Linked DNA regions of Homo sapiens: all the other regions are linked to region 1. Evidence: promoter capture Hi-C in 16 types of primary human blood cells and fetal thymus (Javierre and others, 2016). All regions are on one chromosome and are shown on one strand. Each heading gives the region's core, a stretch centred on a gene start or on the middle of the fragment in contact. The rest is flanking DNA. Distances are from core to core; before and after follow the strand shown.

The links. The method cuts DNA at HindIII sites, captures the fragments that hold promoters and counts their contacts. A CHiCAGO score of 5 or more calls a contact.
Region 2: a fragment that was not itself captured here is called in contact with the fragment with the promoter of SBK1 in region 1 in 5 of 17 cell types (M0 macrophages, M1 macrophages, endothelial precursors and 2 more); the score reaches 6.8 in M0 macrophages.
Region 3: a fragment that was not itself captured here is called in contact with the fragment with the promoter of SBK1 in region 1 in 2 of 17 cell types (neutrophils and M1 macrophages); the score reaches 6.1 in neutrophils.
Region 4: a contact is called between a fragment that was not itself captured here and the fragment with the promoter of SBK1 in region 1, in 6 of 17 cell types (endothelial precursors, naive CD4 T cells, megakaryocytes and 3 more). The highest score is 8.7, in endothelial precursors.
Region 5: a fragment that was not itself captured here is called in contact with the fragment with the promoter of SBK1 in region 1 in 2 of 17 cell types (M1 macrophages and neutrophils); the score reaches 5.3 in M1 macrophages.

What each region holds. Positions count from the first base shown.
Region 1 is chr16:28,291,135-28,293,831 of GRCh38, reverse strand. It overlaps SBK1 (SH3 domain binding kinase 1), which reads right to left and starts at 1,307. Exons shown (of 4, transcript NM_001024401.3): 1 at 532-1,307. LOC124903670 (a long non-coding RNA gene) reads left to right here and starts at 1,767. Exons shown (of 2, transcript XR_007065033.1): 1 at 1,767-2,065. RefSeq lists silencers at 1,207-1,436, 1,644-1,815. The HindIII fragment of the contact is 5,383 bases long and covers 1-2,286 here.
Region 2 is chr16:28,612,751-28,615,447 of GRCh38, reverse strand. LOC107984835 (a long non-coding RNA gene) reads right to left here. Exons shown (of 2, transcript XR_007065036.1): 2 at 1-110. It overlaps LOC124903674 (a long non-coding RNA gene), which reads left to right and starts at 917. Exons shown (of 2, transcript XR_007065047.1): 1 at 917-1,244; 2 at 1,480-2,697. It also overlaps a transcript of SULT1A1 not described here. RefSeq lists enhancers at 1-182, 1,171-1,720, 1,721-2,271, 2,519-2,697. The HindIII fragment of the contact is 7,854 bases long and covers 1-2,697 here.
Region 3 is chr16:27,988,296-27,990,992 of GRCh38, reverse strand. All of the region lies in intron 1 of GSG1L (GSG1 like), which reads left to right. Among named protein-coding and RNA genes, the nearest start is that of GSG1L, 74 kb to the left of the region's middle. The HindIII fragment of the contact is 647 bases long and covers 1,067-1,713 here.
Region 4 is chr16:28,574,950-28,577,646 of GRCh38, reverse strand. The region is part of intron 1 of SGF29 (SAGA complex associated factor 29); the gene reads right to left. Among named protein-coding and RNA genes, the nearest start is that of SULT1A2, 21 kb to the left of the region's middle. The HindIII fragment of the contact is 4,261 bases long and covers 1-2,697 here.
Region 5 is chr16:28,012,047-28,014,743 of GRCh38, reverse strand. All of the region lies in intron 1 of GSG1L (GSG1 like), which reads left to right. Among named protein-coding and RNA genes, the nearest start is that of GSG1L, 50 kb to the left of the region's middle. The HindIII fragment of the contact is 3,230 bases long and covers 1-2,697 here.

The DNA.
Region 1 (2,697 bases), core at 58-2,557:
GCGATTCCCATTCATCCGCTCAAACACACCCCTTCCCCGCACTCTCACAGACAAAGACACACACCCGAAGCCCCAGCCATCACCCAGGGCCACATAAGGCAGCCCCCCTCACCTGTGGGCACCCCCAAATTTTCCCCTCTCGGGGGGACTTCACTAGAAGCTCAGCTTGGCCGTGGGGGAGGGGTATTCACACTCCAAGGACCTGGGGGCCAACCTCCAGGCTCGCAGCTTTTGGGGGGGGACTCTCCGCCCTCTTCCCCCCTCTCCATGGCACAACGGGCTCCACCACCACTCCTCCGTGGGGCCGGGGAGCTGCGCCCGAGCCTCAAGGCTAGGGAGTGGGGTGGGGGAAGGGAGAGGAGGAGGGGGCGGCTCCTCCAAGCGAGACACAAAGAGACGTCCTTCAGCCTCGGCTCCATGGCGACGCTGGGGAAGGGGGAGCGCGCAACCCGATACTTCCTTCCCCACCTGCAGGGCTATGGGGACCTCGGTGGCCACTCACCTGCCGCCCCTCACCTGGGCCCGGCTTACCTGGGCTGGGGCCGCGGGGACGCCGCGGCAGGGGGCCTGGGCGCCGTCGCGGTCTTCGTCTGCCCGGCCCCGGGGGCTCAGGGCGCCACGACCATGGACCGGGGTGCAAGCGGTGCCGCCAGGGGCTCAGTCGCCCAAGTCCTGGAGCTTTAGGGGGGGGATCCCCGAGGCTTCTTGCTGGTGAGAGTGTCTCTTGCTGTCCCCGGCTGCCTAGATTTGGGATTTCTATGTACCGGAGTTGGGGGGAATTGGGATCCCCTGATCTAGGGGCGTTCTGAGCTGGGTCTTCTTGTCTTGAGGTGTGGAGTTGTAATGACCGGATCTTGGGAGGGGGTTCTCGCAATCCCGGCCTGGGGGCACTGCGTTCTAGGTCTTGGGGCGGGGGCCCAGACTGAGGAGGGGGAGTCCTTGCGGTGCCGTAGGGGGCTTGCTGTCTTCTAAATACCGAGGAAGTCTCCGCTTTCCCCGCAGGGGAGTCGCTCGGTGTCGGATCCGGGAGGGCCCCCCCTCTTCCCCGAGGCTCGCCGGATCCTGGATGTGGAAGGGGGCTCCCCGCACTCCTCGGCTGCGGGGGCTTTAGTGGGTCCCGGCCACCGGCGGGCGCTGGAAGCCCCTCAGCCGCTGGGGGGCTCGGTCGCCGCCGCTACGAGCAGCCCGGCCCTGCGCTCCCGGCCCCCGGCCTGGCCCGGGCTCCGGCTGCGGCTCCAGCTCGCGCTCCGCCTGGCGCTCGGGCCCCGGCCCCGGCGCCCGCCCGGGCTGCGCTCCATCGCGGCATCGCGGCTCCGCCCTCCAGCCAGCGCGCACCTGCCCGCCCGGCCCGCGGCTCCGCCCTCCGGCTCGCGCGCCGCCGCCCGCCCCTTTGTCCGTCCCGCTCGGCGCGCGCCCTCGCGCAAGCGCGCTCACCCGCCGCGCGCCCGCCCTCCCGCCGCGCGCCGCGGAGCGCAGATTCTCCCCGCGCGGCGCCCCCACCCCCTTCCGGCCGCGCTGGGTCCTAGCGCCGGTGGCTCCCGAGCTGGCTCCCACCCCCCACCCCCCACCCACCCCACTCCTTTTCTAGGTCAGAGCCCACGAGGGGGCGAGAACGAGGTTACAGAGGACTCGGGGGAGTCTGAGAGGGTCACCTGGTCCAGCTTTCTGGGCCCTGCGGGACGAGACTGCCCCAGACTGTCCCGGTCTGTGCTAGTGGGGCGGAGCCTGTGTGTGTTTGAAGGAGGGAAAACAAATCCAGGTTCTGCATTCGGATATGCATTTCATTCATCCATGCGTCCGCCTGCCTGCCTGCGCTTCCATCCATCCATCCATCCGTCCGTCCATCCATCCATCCATCCATCCATGCATCCTATTTCCAGCGAGACGTCAGAGAACTCACAGTCTTCTTGGGGAAGAGGTCATAAACTTGGGCCTGGGTGGTTGCCCTATCCAACTGAGGTCGCCTTTGCGATCCCTGCTGCAAATAGGCAGTGACTAGTCCAGGAGTGCAGCTGGGAGGAACTGCTCGCCGGATAGAAGGGAAGAAAGGAGATTCTAGGCAGAGGTACAGCAGGTGTAAGGGATGTTGCATTGTCTGTTTGATAACCGGAAATTGGTGGCCTGGATGAAGTGGGTGGATGGGGACAGAGATGAGATAGGGACAGCTCGTCCTTCCAGGCCCTGTTCTTTCTCCTCCCTGCAGCTCACTCTTTCCCTAGTGAGAAAGCCCCAATAGGACGCCTTCCCTATTTCTTTCTTTTTTTTTTGTTTTTTTAGCTTCAAGCTTCAAAAGCATTTCTTTTTCATTCTTTTTTTTAATTATTATTATACTTTAAGTTTTAGGGTACATATGCACAACATGCAGGTTTGTTACGTATGTATACGTGTGCCATGTTGGTGTGCTGCACCCATTAACTCGTCATTTAGCATTAGGTATATCTCCTAATGCTATCCCTCCCCCTTCCCCCCACCCCACAACAGTCCCTGGTGTGTGATGTTCCCCTTCCTGTGTCCATGTGTTCTCTTTGTTCAATTCCCACCTATGAGTGAGAACATGCGGTGTTTGGTTTTTTGTCCTTGCGATAGTTTGCTGAGAATGATGGTTTCCAGCTTCATCCATGTCCCTACAAAGGACATGAACTCATCATTTTTTATGACTGCCCCTATTTCTTCTAAGTTTTTGATCAGGCTGTTTTC
Region 2 (2,697 bases), core at 116-2,615, 320 kb before region 1:
CCGGGTGGGGATGCTCCTTCCCAGCTGGTAGGCTGCCCCCAGGCTCCATGCCCTGCCCTGGCCTGGACACTCACGCTTTGCCTTCTTCATCAATGTCATCTACCTCATACCTGTGGACAAAAGGAGGAAAATGCAGGATGCAGCCAGGGGCACAGTCCCTGTAGGGGAGTGTGGAGGACAGGGGCAGGGCAAGGACCCGGTGCTCCCTGCACAGCCGGCCCCGCCCACAGCACGCTCTGTGGAGTTTTTCTCCTGCTGTGCAGATGAGAAGCAGAGTGGCAGCCCAGGCAGGTGCAGTGACCAGAGAGCAGCCCTGGGGCTGTTGGAGGAGCCCCTGGGAGCCTCCATCTCCCGAGTGAGCCCAGCAGGACTGTGACCCGTTCGGCCAGGTGTCCTACAGGGGCTGCTGGGCTCAGCTACAGATGGGCGAGACCGCAGCATAGTGGGCGCCCAGCGGGAAGAACCAGGGAGGGACAAAGTGAGTTTGCAGGTGGTGGAGAGGCTCTCTTCTTGATGTCGGTGCTGAACCAGAAGTGTGTTTAAGGAGAATTTCCTAAAATTCAAAGAGTTCCACGGGAGTCGCGGCTAGGCCGGGGCGCTTCTTCAGCATCTACCTGCTCTACGGCCTGAACCCCCGTCATCAGGGCCACGTTTATATGGGGTTCACTGTCAGCCCTGCTTGTCAGGTCCAGCAGCACAATGGGGGCCACACAAAAGGCAGGGCCCAGGCCTGGCGCGGTGGCTCAAGCCTGTAAACCCAACACATTGGGAGGCCAAAGCGGTTGGATCACTTGAGGTCAGGAGTTCGAGACCAGCCTGACCAACATGGTGAAACCCCGTCTGTAATAGAAATACAAAAATTAGTCGGGCATGGTGGCACGTGCCTGTAATTACAGCTACTCAAAAGGCTGAGGCGGGAGAATTGCTTGAAAGATGGGGCAGGGGGCAGCGGCAGAGGTTGCAGTGAGCCAAATCGGGCCATTGCACTCCTGGTGAGACCGGAAGGGTCTCTGTGCCAGGAGGAAGGCTTCCTGGAGGAGGCGGACCCCGCTGGGCACAAGCCTGATGAGAGGGAAGGGCATGCCTGTGACATGGGTGGGGAGTCCAGGGTGGGGACGGGACTGTCACAGAGGAGGAGCATGACGGGGAGACAGTGCCCTGGGAATCTTGGCGGTGGAACTCCGGGGAGGAGCTGGCTGGGGCGGAGGTGATGATCCAGGATGCGGGCCAGCGTAGGGGTCTTGGTGGGCATGCTGGGGTCGGATGGAGCGCAGGAGAGAGAAGAGGGGGGACAGGTGGGTACCTGGGCTGGAGGCGCGGCCTGAGGTGGGCAGGTGCAGGGGGCGTGACTTCATTTAGGGGCAGGGCCTGGGGCTAGGCTGAAGCCGGCAGTGAGGACCCCGCTCTCGGGTGGAATTGGAGGGGACCCGCGGTTGGGCGCGGCAGGGCTCACAGGGACACCCCCGTTCTCCTCCCCAGGGAGAAAGTGCTCGTCGTGCACGGCTTCCCGCCCGCCGTGGCAACCCTTCGGGTAAGGAAGGAGACCAGGCGGCGGCAGGCGGGCAAGGGCTTGGGGTCCGCCCCCCTGCCTGGAGCCGCCCTAACTCCTCCGTATCCTGCCGCTGTTGGAGTGGGCCTGGAACCCCCTCCATAGGCGCGCCTCCTACTCCCGCTGCACCCCGACCTCCGCCGGGACCTCTATGCGCCGCGCCGCACGGGCGATGGCCTTCGGGCCTCCCCGGCCCCAGGGCACCGCGCAGGTCCCTTTGCTGGCACCAAGCCCGAGCCTGAGCCGGACCCGGGGCCCAAGAGGCCTGTGCGCCCTGCGAGCCCTTGAGCTCCAGGGGAGGTCCGCCCCAGGCAGGGCGGCTCATCCCCCAGACCACTTCGGATCCAGCTGTTTGTTGAGGAGCCAGGAAACGCCCTGACACTTTTGCGGCCCTGTCCCCGTCTCTAAGATGGGGATGATAGTATTTCTGGCCATTCCTGAGCACAGCAGGACCTGCCTTTTCCCTTTGACTGGAAGGTTCTTCTCTACACCTATCTTGATAACCTGCCACCTCCACAGGGAGGTCTTCTCTATCTCCCGATTTAAAATTGCAGCTCTGAGAAGCCGGGCATGGTGGCATATGCCTGTAGTCCCAGCTACGGGGGGAGGCTGAGGTGGGAGGATCGCTTGGTCCCAGGAGTTGGAGGCTGCAGTGAGCTCTGATCGCTCCACTGCACTATAGCCTGGGCAAAAGAGCAAGAAACTGTCTCTAAAAATATAAAATAAAATTGCACCTCTTGTGTACTTCCCCGTCTGCTTCTTTACCTGAATACTTACTATCTCACCGGCTAGGTGCTTTATGACTCTCGTTAGTCTCTCCCACCCCAACCTTTGCACTACATTGCCCGAGGGCAGCTCTTGTCACTGCTGTAGAACAAAGTCCTGCACAGAGACGATAGCCAAGAAATAGTTAATAAAATAATGGAAAACGGGTGCCTTCTACTGAGCACCCGCTAATAGTGAGTGAGTAGAGGACTTGCCCTGGGGACATTCAGTGACCTGCTGGGTGTTGCTGAGCTGTGAGGAAGTTCAGGTCTGGCTGCAGTGGTGAGGCTGTGACTCAATCAATCACTGCTGATGCTCCCAGGACCTGCACCAGCTTAGTCCCAGGGGCAAGGATTTTAAACCCCCACCTCCATTTCCTCATC
Region 3 (2,697 bases), core at 141-2,640, 300 kb after region 1:
CCACATAGACTCTTTTTAAGTTGGCTTTGCTGGAACTTACATAAGGAATTTTGAATTAGACTTTTTTTTTTAAATTATACTTTAAGTTTTAGGGTACATGTGCACAACGTGCAGGTTTGTTACATACCATTTGACCCAGCCATCCCATTACTGGGTATATACCCAAAGGATTGCAAAACATGCTGCTATAAAGACACATGCACACATATGTTTATTGCAGCACTATTCACAATAGCAAAGACTTGAATTAGACTTTTAAAGGTCTGGATTTAGGAAGCCAAGTCACAGATTCGTCATCAAAATGTGCCTAAACTACCTGTATGAATTGGGTGAATTCTTTTCTTCTTGAGGTCCCAAAATATCTTGAGGTTCCTGGACCTGCTAGAAAGTGTCATTCTTTATTTATCACAGGTCAGGAATCTTGCAAGGGAACCATAAGACAAGGAACTAGGCCAGTCTTTCCAGAGGACCTTTTATTGGCTCTATTAAGTCAACCTCAATTCCTCAAAGCAGAATGGTCATATCTAAAAATACACCATTCTAGTCAAAACCTTGGCATAATAAGTATTTCCAATGTGTCCAGTGGCAAAAGAAAACGTATTCTTAGTGAATGTATGTTAATAACTATATTATAATAAAATAAGAATATTCATGAATAGTTTCCAAATTATGGAGAAATTAGAGGGAAATGTAAATGTCTCCATTTTGCTCACAAGTGTATACTTTGCCCAATTGCTGTAGATATAAATAGCTCAAAAGAAAGAAAAAAATTTCTTTGACTCTGAAAAACAAAACATAAAAAGAAACAACAATGGTTCAAACAAAAAGTCATAAAAATGATTTCAGTCCTTTATTATTTCAGACCCATGTGAGTAATTCTTGTTCTGCTTGATGTTGGGTTAGCAATCCTCATAAACACATCAGCTAATTAAGAGCCCTGGACGTTTCTACTAGCCTAATGGTATCATCTCCAAAGTTATCAGAAACCTGTTATTCAAGATGACTTGTCAGGGTCCTTTCCATGAATTTCCTCGAAGACACCACACTTTAGGGTTTGCAAAAAGCTTTTAGGAAAAAGAATCAGAATAAAGCAATTAACTGCATATACCAAGACATATCAGACATTTAGGAATTTCCTCCAATTTTGGGACACATATTAATAACACATTTATACAAATACAACTCAAAGAAAGTTAAACACCATTTCTTATTTGACAACGTTTCCCATATAATTGTTTGTTGTTTTTTTTTTTTAGACTGAGTCTCACTCTGTTGCCCAGGCTGGAGTACAGTGGTGTGATCTCAGCACACTGCAACCTCTGCATCCTGGGTTCAAGTGATTCTCGTGCCTCAGCCTCCCAAGTAGCTGGGACTACAAGCATTTGCCACCATGCCTGGCTAATTTTTGTATTTTTAGCAGAGGCAGGGTTTCACCATGTTGGGCAGGCTGGTCTCGAACTCCTGACCTCAGGTGATCCACCTGCCTTGGCCTCCCAAAGTGCTGGGATTACAGGTGTGAACCACCGCTCCTGGTCCGTATAATTTTAACATAACAAATAAGCCTAGTATATCTCTCTTGGCCTTTCAGGGGCCTATTTGTTATGTCTAAGTTAGTTTGGGTCAAGAAGACTTAAGTTTAGAATTTGAAATTTGCTTTTGGGAAGTATGTCAAATATCAAAGGTTAAAACACTTGATATCAAAGTAAGAAAGCTTTAAAACACTTTATCAAAATAGGATCCTGGATGACTGCAAAATAATAGTCATTTAGCCAAAGTGATAACTCAAAGATGGCAAAAAGCAAAAACCTTTACTCTTTGATAGAGAGGAGACTGAGTTTTCCAAAAAATCCAAAGCCCTAATAAAGACAGCGTGAAACTGTCTCTCCTTCTCTCCTTTTTTTCTTTCTTTTTCTTTTTTTCTTTTCTTTTTTTTTTTTTTTGAGACAGAGTCTTGCTCTGTCACCTAGGCTGGAGTGCAGCAGCACAATCTCGGCTCACTGCAACATCCGCCTCCCGGGTTCAAGCAATTCTCCTGCCTCAGCCTCCCGAGGAGCAGGGATTACAGGCATGCACCACCATGGCTGGCTAACTTTTGTATTTTTAGTAGAGACGGGGTTTCACCATGTTAGCCAGGATGGTCTTGATCTCCTGACCTCGTGATCCGCCCACCTCGGCCTCCCAAAGTGCTGGGATTACAGACGTGAGCCACCAGGCCCAGCCCTCTCCTTTTTTTTTTTTTCTTAATTGCAGTTGACTGAAAAGGTAAACAAAATAATTTTCTCTCTTATTAATATGACATAAATTCTTGTTTAAAGGAGAAAATGAAAATTTACTTTTATATTAGTGTATTATCAATACAAAAGCTAATTTTAATAAAACCCTATAAACAAATCCATCCAATTTCAGTCAGCTTTGGACCACACAGATAAGATTCCCACAAATCCTTTATAACTGCTTATAAGACTTTTTTCTACTTTTTTCTTACCTCAACTTTTAGATTCATTTATTTTTATCTATACCATTTCTCCTTCATTTTGAATCAACCTTTAAATAACCTCTAAACTAGAAAAAATTACTTTTCCTTCAGCAAAAACCACAACCTCATGTCTTTTTAATAACATTTCTTAACCTAAAATACATTTTGCTTTCTTTATACACTCTGTATATAGAATTGTTTCTCTTATATCTAGTAGTTTA
Region 4 (2,697 bases), core at 102-2,601, 280 kb before region 1:
GTTGGGAAGGAGGTAGAGAAACTACACGAATGCATAAAGTGTGATATTATCCATACAGTGGAATATTACTTGACAGTAAAAAGAAATGAAGTACTGAGACACGCTATGACATGGATGAACCTTGAAAACATTATGCTAAGTGAAAGAAGCTGCAATCACAGAAGACCACATAATTGTGTTTCCATTTACGTGAAATATCCAGAATAGCCGAATCCATAGAAAGCTGGGTGGGGAAGGGTTGGGAGAGAAAGGACAGCGACTATTAATGAGTATGGGTTTTTTTGTTTTTTTTTTTTGGCCAGGTGTTGAAAATGTTCTAAAATTGTGCTGATGGTTGCACAACTCTGAATATACTAAAAACCAATGAATTGCACACTTTAAATACATGGTACATGGCCACCCCACCCCCAGGCAAATATTAATTTACTTTCTGTCTCTTTAGATTTATGTAGTCTGCACTTTTTTTTTTCTTTTTTAATGAGACAGAGTCTCGCTGTGTCACCGAGGCTGGAGTGCAATGGCACGATGTTGGCTCACTGCAACCTCCGCCTCCCGGGTTCAAGTGTTTCTCCTGCCTCCCAAGTAGCTGGGACTATAGGCGCCCACCACCACGCCCGGCTAATTTCTGTATTCTTAGTAGAGACGGGGTTTCGACATGTTAGCCAGGCCGGTCTCGAATGTCTGACCTTGGGTGATACGCCTGACCTCGGGTGATCCACCTGCCTCAGCCTCCCAAAGTGCTGGGATTACAGGCGTGAGCCACCATGCCAGGCCTGTGCTTTTATTGCTGAATAACTCCATTGTTTTGCTATATCATATTTTACATGTCAGTTCATGAACTGATGGACATTGGGTTACGTCTATTTTTTTGGCTATTATGAATAATGCTGCTATGAGCGTTGTGTACAGGTTTTTGTGTGGGCACGTTTTCTTTGTTTTTCTTTTTTGGGACAGATTCTAGCCTTGTTGCCCAACTTGGAGTGCAGTGGTGTGATCTCGGCTCACTGCAATCTCTGCCTCTCTCGTTCAAGCAATTCTCCTGCCTCAGCCTCCCAAGTAGCTGGGATTACAGGCACCCATCACCACGCTGGCTACTTTTTGTATTTTTAGTAGAGATGGGGTTTCACCACGTTGGCCAGGCTGGTCTCAAACTCCTGACCTTAGGTGATCCACCTGCCTTGACCTCCCAAAGTGCTGGGATTACAGGTGTGAGCCACTGCGCCCGGCCCTTCTTTTTTAATTTTAATTTTAGGTTTTGGGGATACATGTGAAGGTTTGTTGCATAGGTAAATATGTGTCATGGGGGTCTGTTGTACAGATAATTTCATCACCCAGGTATTATGCCCAGTACCCGATGGTTATCTTTCCCGCTTCTCCCTCCTCCTACCCTCCCCGCCCAGTGTCTGTTGTTTCCTTCTTTGTATTCATGACATGTTTTCATTTCTGGGTACATATCTATGAGAATTAATAATGTGTTTTTTTTAACGTATTTACACTATGTTTATCTTAATAAGTGTATTAAACATAAACTCTGTTTAACCTTCTGAGGAGCTGCATGCTGTTTCCAACTGGGTGACCATTTTACATTCCCACCTGCAATGTGCATTCCCACTCTGCATTTGCGCCAACACATGCTATTGTCTCTCTCTGTCATTTTTATTTTTGGCAGAGGCAGGGTCACACTATGTTGCCCAGGCTGGTGTCGAATTCCTGAGCTCAACCAATCCTCCTGCCTTGGCCTCCCAAAATGCTGGGATTACACGTGTGAGCCACCATGCCTGGCCTCTCTCTTTTTGATTACAGCCATCCTAGTGAGTCTGAAGTAGAGTCTCATTGTGGTTTTGATTTGTGTGTCCCTAACGGTTAATGGCATTGAGTATCTTTTCATATGCTGTTGGCCATCTGTATATATTACCATTTTAAAGTTTGGTTATTTGTCTTTTTTGTTTGCTTGTTTGTTTTGAGACGGAGTCTCACTCTGCCACCCAAGCTGGAGTGCAGTGACTCAATCTCAGCTCACTGCAACCTCTGCCTCCCGGCTTCAAGCAATTTTCCTGCCTCAGCCTCCTGAGTAGCTGGGATTACAAGGCACGCACCACAAAGCCCAGCTAATTTTTGTATTTCTTTTAGTAGAGACAGGGTTTCACCATGTTGACCAGGCTGGTCTCAAACTCTCAACCTCAAGTGATCCACCCGCCTTGGCCTCCCAAAGTGCTGGGCTTATAGGTGTGAGCCACCGTGTCCAGCCAGTTGTCTTGAGTTGTGTCCTTGGAAGCACATGTTTTTAATTTTTATGAAGACCAATTTCTTTTTCTTTTAGCTGCTTGTGATATTGATCTGTGTTGTCCCACATGTACGACACTGTTTTTACCACCACAGCTTTACACAATGCATTGTCATATAGAGAAGAACATATCCCCTTAGAAACATTTAGAGACCTAGGAACAGAAGCTACATCTGTGTCTCAGGTGGTGGTGAAGCCAGATGGTGGATCCTGGTGCCAGTACCCCCAGGGCTTGTATACCATAGGGAAAGGGTGGTTCAGAAGGGATGCACTGGACAACTGAAGTATGATAACATCAAGATGGTGTGACCCCATGGCAGGATTTATGGTAAGTATGTACTCTTACACAAGGAACAATAGACAAACTGGAAATCTTGGAGTCCTTTCCAGAACTGGAATTAATCAGAAGTGAA
Region 5 (2,697 bases), core at 69-2,568, 280 kb after region 1:
GAGGATTGCCTGAGCCTAGGAGTTCAAGACCAGCCTAGACAACATAGTGAGACCCCGTCCCTACCAAAAAAAAAAAAAAAAAAAAAAAATAGCGTGCCTGTAGTCCCAGCTACTTGGGAGGCTGAGATGAGAGGATTGTTGGATCCCAGGAGTTGGAGGTTACAGAGAGCTTTGATTGCCCTACTGCACTCCAGCGTGGGTGACAGAGCGAGACCCTGTCTCTTAAAAAAATGAAAATTAAGAAAATGACTCCCCTTTCCGTGTGCTTATCCCCACTCTTCAGTTTAGTCTGTATTTTTCCAGTTGTTTTCTCTATTATCAACCGCATACCTATGTAAAGAGATGGAAGCAGAGAGGTACAGTTCTACTCTCTGCTTTCTCCCCATGACAACATAACTGAGGCATGTTCCCGTGTCTGCACGTGTGGATCTGCCTCGTGCTCTTCAATAACTGTTTATTAGTATGTCCTCCCATGGATACACCTTTATTTATTCAGAATACATACTTCCTTTCAGCTTAGTGCAAATGTCATCTTCCTCCAGGAAGTCTTCCTTGATTCTTGCAGCACAAAATGGCCACTTCCTCCTCCAAACTCCTAGGTCCCTGTCCCTTTCTCAGGCTCTAGATGAGTCAGGGTAAGGCTATGCTGCTGTAACAAAGAGATCCTGCAATATGGAGGCTTGAAGAACAGGGCAGCTGTTTCTCTCTTAGGTCGTAGTCCTGGTTGGTGGGGCAGCTCTGCCCCTGCCAGTCATTCCAGGAGCCAGGCTCCTTCCAAGTCATTGCTCTGTATGCCCTAGGGCACCCTGGTCGTTGTCAGTGTGGCTGAAGTGAGCCACATAGGAAGGCAGGAGATGCCTGATGTCTTCACCCTGACACGGACTGTCCATTCACAAGCCATTGGCAAGAGCTTTGCATGGCCATGCCTCCTGTCTGGGAGGCCTGGGTGTCTGCAATGCCATGGAAGAAGAGAAACCAGCTTTGGTGTACAATCGCTAGTGTTTGCTATTATACAAACCTTGATGCCTTAACGTGGCGCTTGGGGTCCCCATGCTGTGGGAGATGAAATGCTGAGAGAGCAGGATCCAGGGCTGGTCCATCTTCGCATCTTCCTTCATGTCCTGTGTGGCACCTGGCACGTGGTCAGTGCTTGGAAAATGCCAAGCCCATGTGTGGACGTACAGTCACCAAATCAGAGAGTGGTGGGCAACAGGGTCTAGTAACATTTCCCTGCCAAGCACTGTTCTGGGCCCTGAAGACCCAAAGCATAGTTGCTCCACCCCCAAACATTATAGTCATGATCTCTTTGGGTTTCTGGAAAAGGAGATTCTCTTCCTGTGGCAGGGGCACATGCCATCTCTTCCTCCTGACGCCCACCTCCCTCTGCTCGCCAGCTCTCCTCACTTGCCTAGCTGGCTCCTACTGTATAACTCTCCATAAATGTTACCTCTCCCAGACTAGGTTGGCTCTCTCCATTATCCACATGTGTATTATATTTCTCCCTTGTAAGTTTTTTTTTTTTTTGAGTCAGAGTTTTGCTCTTGTGGCCCAGGCTGGAGTGCAATGGTGAAAGCTCACTGCAACCTCCACCTCCTGGGTTCAAGCGATTCTCTTGCCTCGGCCTCCCAAGTAACTGGGATTACAGGCATATGCCACCATGCACGGCTAATTTTTTGTATTTAGTAGAGAGAGGGTTTCACCATATTGGTCAGGCTGGTCTCGAACTCCTGACCTCAGGTGATCCACCCGCCTCGGCCTCCCAAAGTGATGGGATTACAGGTGTGAGCCACTGCACCTGGGCACTTGTAAGTTTTATAAATTGCATTGAAGTAACTTTTTTTTTTTTTTTTGAGAGTTCTTGCTCTGTTGCCCAGGCTGGAGTACAGTGGCATGATCATAACTCACTGCAGCCTTGAACTCTTGGGCTCAAGTGATCCTCCCACCTCAGCTTCCCGAGTAGCTGGGACTACAGATGCATGCTGCCACCCTCGATAATTTTAATTTATTTTAAAAATTTTTTCATAGAGACACGGTCTTGCTGTGTAGCTGAGGCTGGCCTGGAACTCTTGGCCTTGAGTGATCCTTCTATCTTGGCTTCCCAAAGCACTGGGATTACAGGCATGAGCCACCATGCCCAGCCAGAAGTATCTTTTTTTTTTGTATAAAATTTCATTTCAGGTCAATCTGCACTCTAAGTTTGTAAGCTCTATGATGACAGGTACAGTTTTGTGTGTTCAGTGCCTAGCAGACTGCCTGGCCCAATAGACATTCTGTCTACACATGTTAAATATTTAATCAATATTGTCACCGGTTCACCACGGATGAGAAAATGGAGGCTCAGAGAGGTTGAGTGACTGGCCTAAGATCACACAGCAAGTGAGTTTCAGCATTGGGATTTTGGGCTGCCTCCAGAGCTGCTGCTTTCACAGGCTAATGCAATTAGAATACCACATGATGTGTGCCATAACAGGGTATTAATAGGCTGTGTTTAAGGGGTGGTGGGAGGGCAGAGGGGGGCGTGACTGACTCAGCCTAGGGGAGGGGTGGCTGCCTGGAGGAAGCAGTGACCTTGGGGGCTCAGAAACCGTGGGGCATTTGGAGCAGCTGTAGCGACTGCGTGGGAGTATGAAATCTGAGACCAGAGCAGAGCTGGTTGTGAAGCTCCTGCTTGGGGGTGTCAGGGAGTTTGGACTTAGT